Regions from separate parts of the Homo sapiens genome. Here region 1 is linked to region 2. Evidence: promoter capture Hi-C in human tissues and cell types (Jung and others, 2019). All regions are on one chromosome and are shown on one strand. Each heading gives the region's core, a stretch centred on a gene start or on the middle of the fragment in contact. The rest is flanking DNA. Distances are from core to core; before and after follow the strand shown.

Region 1 (3,336 bases), core at 730-3,229, 41 kb before region 2:
AACCCTTAATGTAACTTTTAAAATTTTTACTTTATAAACTTTTTTGAACTTTTTCACTCTTACAATAATGCTTAGTTTATAATGCAAATATATTGCATAGCTGTACAAAAATATTTTCTTTATATCCTTATTCTATAATCTTTTTTCTATTTTTAAAATTTCTTATTTTTTATTTTTTTACTTTTATTTTTTATTTTTATTTATTTATTTATTTTGAGACGGAGTCTCGCTCTGTCACCAGGCTGGAGTGCAGTGGCGTGATCTTGGCTCACTGCAACCTCCAACTCCCAGGTCCAAGTGATTCTCCTGCCTCAGCCTCCTGAGTAGTTGGAATTACAGGCACGCGCCATCACACCCGCCTAATTTTTGTATTTTTATTAGAGACGGGGTTTCACCATGTTGGCCAGGATGGTCTCAATCTCCTGACCTTGTGATCCAACCACCTCAACCTCCCAAAGTGCTGGGATTACAGGTGTGAGCCACCATACCTGGCCTATTTTTTTACTTTTAAAAGTTTTTTGTTAAAAACTGAGACACAAGCCAGGTGAGGTAAGATATGCCTGCAGTCCCACCTACGGGAGGCTGAGGCAAGGGGATGACCTGAACCCAGTCTGGGCAACACAGTGAGGCCCTGTCTCTTATTTAAACAAAACAAAACAAAGACATTAGCACACACATGAGCCTAGGCCTACACAGGGATAGAATCATCAGTATCACTGTTGTCCACCTCCACATCTTGACCACCTAGAAGGTTTTCAGGGGCAATAACATGCATGAAGCTGAGATATGTGATAATAATGCCAGTGGGCTTGGTGGCTCATGCCTGTAATCCCAGCCCTTTGGGAGGCTAAGGTGGGCAGATCACTTGAGCCCAGGAGTTCAACACCAGCCTGGGCAACATGGCAAGACCCCGTCTCTACCAAAAAATACAAAAAGTTAGCCAGGTGTGGGGGCTTGCACCTGTAGTCCCAGCTACTTGGGAGGCTGAGGTGGGAGGATCGCCTGAGAGTAGGAGGCGGAGGTTGCGGTGAGCTGAGATGGCACCACTGCACTCCTGGGTGACACAGCAAGACTCTGTCTCAAAAAAAAAAAACAAGGCTGGGTGTGGTGGCTCTCGCCTGTAATCCCAGCACTTTGGGAAGCTGAGGTGGGTGGATCACCTGAGGTCAGGAGTACAAGACCAGCCTGGCCAACATGGAGAAATCCCATCTCTACTAAAAAAGTACAAAAATTAGCTGGGCATGGTGTTGTATGCCTGTAATCCCAGCTACTCGGGAGGCTGAGGCAAGAGAATTGCTTGAACCCAGGAGGCGGAGGTTGCAGTGAGCTGAGATTACACCGCTGCACTCCAGCCTGGGCAATAGAGCCACACTCTGTCTCAAAAAGAAATAATAAAAAATACTAGGTTCAATACATAATCATATGCTCCTGCTGTTCTTTTACACCAGCATCACCACAAACACATGAGTAACACATTGTCGTAGACATTGTGACAGCTACGATAGACTGGGCGATAGGAATTTTTCAGCTCCATTATAATCGCATGGGACGACAGTCATACGTGCGGCCCATCATTAACCAAAACATTGTGGTGTGGGACTGTACCACATCGTGCTTGTCCATTCCTCTGCTGAGGGATGTTTCAATTGTTCCCACCTTTTGGCTGTTGTGAATAACCTCGCTATGAATGTTGGCGTACGAGTTCCTGTTTGAGTCCCTGCTTTCAATCCTGTGGGCATAGACCTAGGAATGGAATTGCCGTGTCATATGGTAACTCTGTGTTGAACTTTCTGAGGAATAGCCAAACCGATTTCCAAAGTAGAGACACCATTTTCGTTCCCACCAGCCATTTCTCCACATTCTTGCCAACACTTGTTACTTCCCATTTTTTTAATTAGAGCCGGCTCTAATAAAAATTAGTGGGTATGAAGTTGTATTTCATAGTGGTTTTGCTTTGTTTGGGACAAGGTCTCATTCTGTCACCCAGGCTGGAGTGCAGTGGCCCGATCTCTGCTCATTGCAGCCTCAACCTCCCGGGCTCAAGTGATCCTCCTGTTTCAGCCCTCTTTGCTCATTTTAAAATTGAATTGTCACCTGTAATCCCTGCACTTTGGGAGACCAAGGCAGGCAGATCACTTGAGGCCAGGAGTTTGAGACCAGCCTGGCCAACATGGTGAAACTCTGTCTCCACTAAAAATATAAAAATTAGCCGGGTGTGGTGGCATGCACCTGTAATCCCAGCCACTCAGGAGGTTAAAGCAGGAGAATCACTCGAACCCGGGAGGCGGAGGTTGCAGTGAGCCAAGATTGCGCCACTGCACTCCAGCCTGGGTGACAGAGCAAGACTCCGTCTTAAAAAAAAAAAAAAAAAAAAAAAGGCCGGGCGCAACGGCTCACGCTTGTAATCCCAACACTTTGGGAGAATGAGGCGGGCGGATCATGAGGTCTGGAGATCAAGACCATCCTGGCCAACATGGTGAAACCTTGTCTCTATTAAAATACAAAAAATTAGCCGGGCGTGGTGGTACACGCCTGTAGTCCCAGCCACTCAGGAGACTGAAGCAGGGGAATCGCTTCAACCCTGGAGGCGGAGGTTGCAGTGAGCCGAGATCGTGCCACTGCACTCCAGCCTGGCGACAGAGTGAGACTCCGTCTCAAGAAAAAAAAAATTGAATTATAGGGGTTATTTATATAATCTGGAAATTAAACCCTCATCAATATGTGATTTGCAAATGTTTTCTTCTGTGGATTTTTTCATCCTTCATAGTGTCCTTTGATGCATAGAAGTCTTTAATTTTAATGAAGTATGATTTATCCATTTTTTCTTTTGTTGCCTGTGCTTTTGGTGTTGTTTAAAAAACCAACGCCAAATGGCCGGGCACAGTGGCTCACGCCTGTAATCCCAGCACTTTGGGAGGCCAAGGCGGGCGGATCACGAGGTCAGGAGATCAAGACCATCCTGGCTAACATGGTGAAACCCCACCAGGCTGGTCTCAAACTCCTGGCCTCTACTAAAAAAAAATACAAAAAATTAGCAGGGCGCGGTGGCGGGCGCCTGTAGTCCCAGCTACTTGGGAGGCTGAGGCAGGAGAATGGCGTGAACCCGAGAGGCAGAGCTTGTAGTGAGCCGAGATAGCGCCACTGCTCTCTAGCCTGAGCAACAGAGCAAGATTCTGTCAAAAAAAAAAACAAAAACAAAAAAACCAAAGCCAACCTCATGCAAATTTTCCCAGATATAGATATAGACATAGATATAGATATATAGTTTGTTTTTTTTTTTTGAGACGGAGTCTCACTCTGTCACCCGGGCTGGATTGCAGTGGCCGGATCTCAGCT
Region 2 (3,740 bases), core at 1,015-3,514:
CCTCCACCTCCTGGGTTCAAGTGATTCTTGTGCCTCAGCCTCCCGAGTAGCTGGGATTACAGGACCCCACCACCATGCCCGGCTAATTTTTGTATTTTTAGTAGAGACGGGGTTTCACCATGTTGGCCAGACTGGTCTCAAACTCCTGACCTCAGGTGATCTGCCTGCCTCGGCCTCCCAAAGTGGTGGGATTACAGGGGTGAGCCACCACGCTTGGCCTTACAAATAAAGAATCTGAGGCTTCAGATAGTTTATTTCTTTTTTGCTTGTTTATTTTCTTTCTTTTTTTTTTTTTGAGATGGAGTCTCACTCTGTCACCCAGGCTGGAGTGCAGTGGCATGATCTCGGCTCAGTGCAACCTCCGCCACCCGGGTTTGAGCAATTCTTCTGCCTCAGCCTCCCAAGTAGCTGGGATTACAGGCGACTGCCACCATGCCTGGCTAATTTTTGTATTTTTAGTAGAGATGGGGTTTCACCATATTGGTCAGGCTGGTCTTGAACTCCTGACCGCATGATCCACCTGCCTCGACCTACCAAAGTGGTGGGATTACAGGTGTTAGCCACTGCGCCAGCCTTACAGATGAAGAACCTGAGGCTCAGTTTATTTATTTAATTTATTTTTTATTTGTTTATTTGCCTTCTATCATTTTTATTAGTTGCTGGGTTTTGAGCACTGGGCCAATTCTATGGCCTTCCTGAAGATGGTCAAGGAACAAAATCGAAAACAAAAATTAGGGTTACATCCTCCCTGTTTTGTAGAGATAGCGAAATATTGAAGACATTGGCAGGGGAATAATGCAGATTTGATGATGTAAAACAGAGTGGCCGGCACTGTAATCCCAACACTTTGGGAGGCCAAGGTAGGTGGATCACTTTAGCGCAGGAGTTCCAGACCAACTTGGCCAACATGGTGAAATCCCATCTCTACCAAAAATACAAAAATTAGCTGGGCATGGTGGCAGATGTCTGTAATCCCAGCTACTCAGGAGGCTGGGGCAGGAGAATCGCTTGAATCTAGGAGTTGGAGGTTGCAGTGAGCAGAGATTGCGGATTGTGCCACTGCACTCCAGCCTGGGGGACAGAGCGAGACTGTCTCAAAAAAAAAAAAAAAGAAAAAAGAAAAAAAGGATAACACTGAAAATGACCATGGATAAAATGTAGGAAAATTCAGAGAATTATAAATAAGGCTATAAAAGTATCCAGAATTCTACTCCCCAAAAACTAAGCTTTGTTCACCAGCCTCAGTTCTGGAGTTAGGCTGAAGTGGGTTAATTTTCCTTCTGGGTCCAGCAGTGTGGCCTGGGGCACATTCTCTCAAAGCCTCCTTTGTCTCACCTGTGAATTAGAACAATAATATCTGCCCCTGGGTTAGGATTAAGTGAGACAAACCACGTGCTTTAGCATAGGGCATGGCCCGCAGCTGGTGCTTAGAGCAACCGTGACTGGAAGAGGGTGGGATGATTTGGGTGCCAGGCCCTAACATTTTTTTTTTGTATTTGCTTTTTGAAATTGCTTTTATAGTTGGTTAGGTGTCTAAAAAAGTAAGAACCCTCCTCCGCTCTCCCAACCTCAAACCACGGAGGTAACCAAGACAGGAGTGCAGTCTCCCGGACCTTTTGTTTTGCAATCACACAAACACACAACACTCAAGAGGAGGGGCTTATTAGTTTTCATTTTGTAAAAATGGGACAAAGTACCCATATTGTGCAACAACCTTGCTTTTGAAATGAAAAAAGTATTATTTCTGCTTCCTTTCCGTTCATATACCGTATACATATTTTAACAAAATCCGGGCTTAGTCTGTTCTGAGGCGCTGCAGTTTTGAAGGGGGAGGGGGCGGAGATCCGGGCTCGCTCCCCCGTCACTGCCCCCTCCATCCCTTCCCCCTCTTTCCGGGCGCCCTTCCCCCGGGCCCAGGCCGGGCCCATGCCCTTCCCAGGCCCCTTCTCTTGGCTCCTGGCCCCTCCTCCGGGTCTCCTCCCCGATCCCCGCTCTGCCCCGTTCTCTCCCGCCTCTCCCGCCGTCCCCGGGCCCCTCCCCACTCCCAGCCCCCTCCCAGCCCCCTCCCGCCGCTCCCCGCCCCTCCCCCCTGGCCCCAGCCCTCGCCCGGCCCCCGGGCCGATCCCAAGGCCGCCGCTCCCGGGAGGCGCGGCAGGGGGCGCTGCGCGGGCCCAGGTTGCGGGCGGCGGCGGGAGGAGGAGGACGAGGAGGCGGGGGCGGCGGCAGGCGGGGGGCGGGGAGCCGAGCGCGAGGGAGCGAGCGGCGAGACAGGCGCCGAGGCTCCACCGCGCAGCGACGAGCGAGCCCGGGAGGAGGGAGGGAGCGAGCGAGCGAGCAGCCCGCGCCGCCGCCTCGCAATCCGCCGCCATCCCGCCGCCCCCGTGCCCGACCGCCGCCCGACTGCCATCGCCCGGCCCGGCCGCGCCCGCGGAACCAGACCAGGTGGGTCGGGGCCGGGGCCGGGGCCGGGGCGTGGGGGCGGCGGCGCTAAGATGGAGGCGGCGCGGCCCGGCCGGGCTTTGTCTCCCGCGGCCGCCGCCGGGGGCCCGGGGGCCCTGCGGCCCTGCCCGACCTTTGTCCGCGAGCGCGGCCGCCGCCGCCTCCTTCCCGCCGGGCGCGGGGCTGCGGGGCTGGGAGGCCGCGGGGCCTGGGGGCGGCGGGCCCGGGCGCGCTCGCCATTGTTGTGGCGGCGCCGCGCGGCCTCAGGCTCGGGCGGGGTCCAGGGGCCGCGCGACTCCCTCAGGGCTCGCCCGCCACCCCCGTACCCCCGAGGCCGGGCCGGGCTGCAGAGGCCGGAGGGGCGGGGGTCCCGGGCCCGCAGCCGGGTCTCGGGGTTCTGGGGCCGGCGTCTTTGCTCCCCGCCCCGCCCAATTGACGGAGCAGCGCGCCCGAGGCGGGATCCTGCGGGGTCGGGCCTTGGGTCCGGGGCGCTGAGCGGCGTTCGCGGGGCCGTTCCTGGCGCGGGGTGGGCCGGGCCCCGGCGGCGCTAAAGTTGGCGGCTGGGGGAGGGAGGCGAGCGGCCGCCCAGTCTCGGTGTGAGTGCGGGAACCAGAGGGTTATTTTCGAAATGCTGAATGCTCCATGCTAAAAATGTTTAATAATAAACAGGATGTCGCCACTCGGGGCCTGCCAGATGGGGTTTTTTTTTTTTTCCTCCTCTTTTGCCTCCCCTCAACCCCCAGGAGAGAAATTCAGCCCTGTTGAAACTGTGGGCCTCTGAAGAGTGGATTTGCCTTAAGAGGTGGATTTTTTTCCTTTTTCTTTTTTCCTCCTTCTAAATATCGTGGGAGGTCGGAGCCCACCTTTAGGCAAGAATTGGAGGTGTTTTCAGTGGTGAGCTTGAAGGAAGTGGGAGAAGGGGGGCTGGGGAGTGTCTTTTGCTAAATGGCTTCCTGGGAGAAATCTTTAAATGCCTTTGGTTTACAGGACTGTTAAACTTTCCCTAAGATTTTTTTTTTCTTTAAGGTTTAGTGTGCATTTGATGTGGCTTTGTACAGTGTCATCCAGTTTGGTTTTTGTAACCAATTGTGTGCGGTCTTAGCATGGTTTTTCCGAATCTCGCTGCAGCCATTTAGTCATGTCTATGCACAGCGCTGTGGTGTAAGGTGGGACTGGGGAGGCCCAGGCATTGGGGTGCAGATCCTGCTTCTTTCTTCCGTAAACCTAGTGACTCTGGGGCTGTCTGAGGCTTCATCTGCATAAATCGGGGCGTGCACCCTCCACCTGGCAGGTTTGGGCAG

Evidence for each region. The method cuts DNA at HindIII sites, captures the fragments that hold promoters and counts their contacts. A contact is called where the count stands out against the background at its distance.
Region 1: a contact is called between a fragment that was not itself captured here and the fragment with the promoter of PRRC2B in region 2, in 1 of the 25 tissues and cell types used here (spleen).

The regions. Positions count from the first base shown.
Region 1 is chr9:131,351,524-131,354,859 of GRCh38, forward strand. The region is part of intron 3 of LOC105376299 (a long non-coding RNA gene); the gene reads left to right. Among named protein-coding and RNA genes, the nearest start is that of PRRC2B, 41 kb to the right of the region's middle. RefSeq lists an enhancer at 577-1,078. The HindIII fragment of the contact is 5,352 bases long and covers 1-3,336 here.
Region 2 is chr9:131,391,822-131,395,561 of GRCh38, forward strand. It overlaps PRRC2B (proline rich coiled-coil 2B), which reads left to right and starts at 2,265. Exons shown (of 32, transcript NM_013318.4): 1 at 2,265-2,442. RefSeq lists enhancers at 1,489-1,638, 2,765-3,526 and silencers at 2,109-2,298, 2,329-2,438, 2,669-2,958. The HindIII fragment of the contact is 30,479 bases long and covers 1-3,740 here.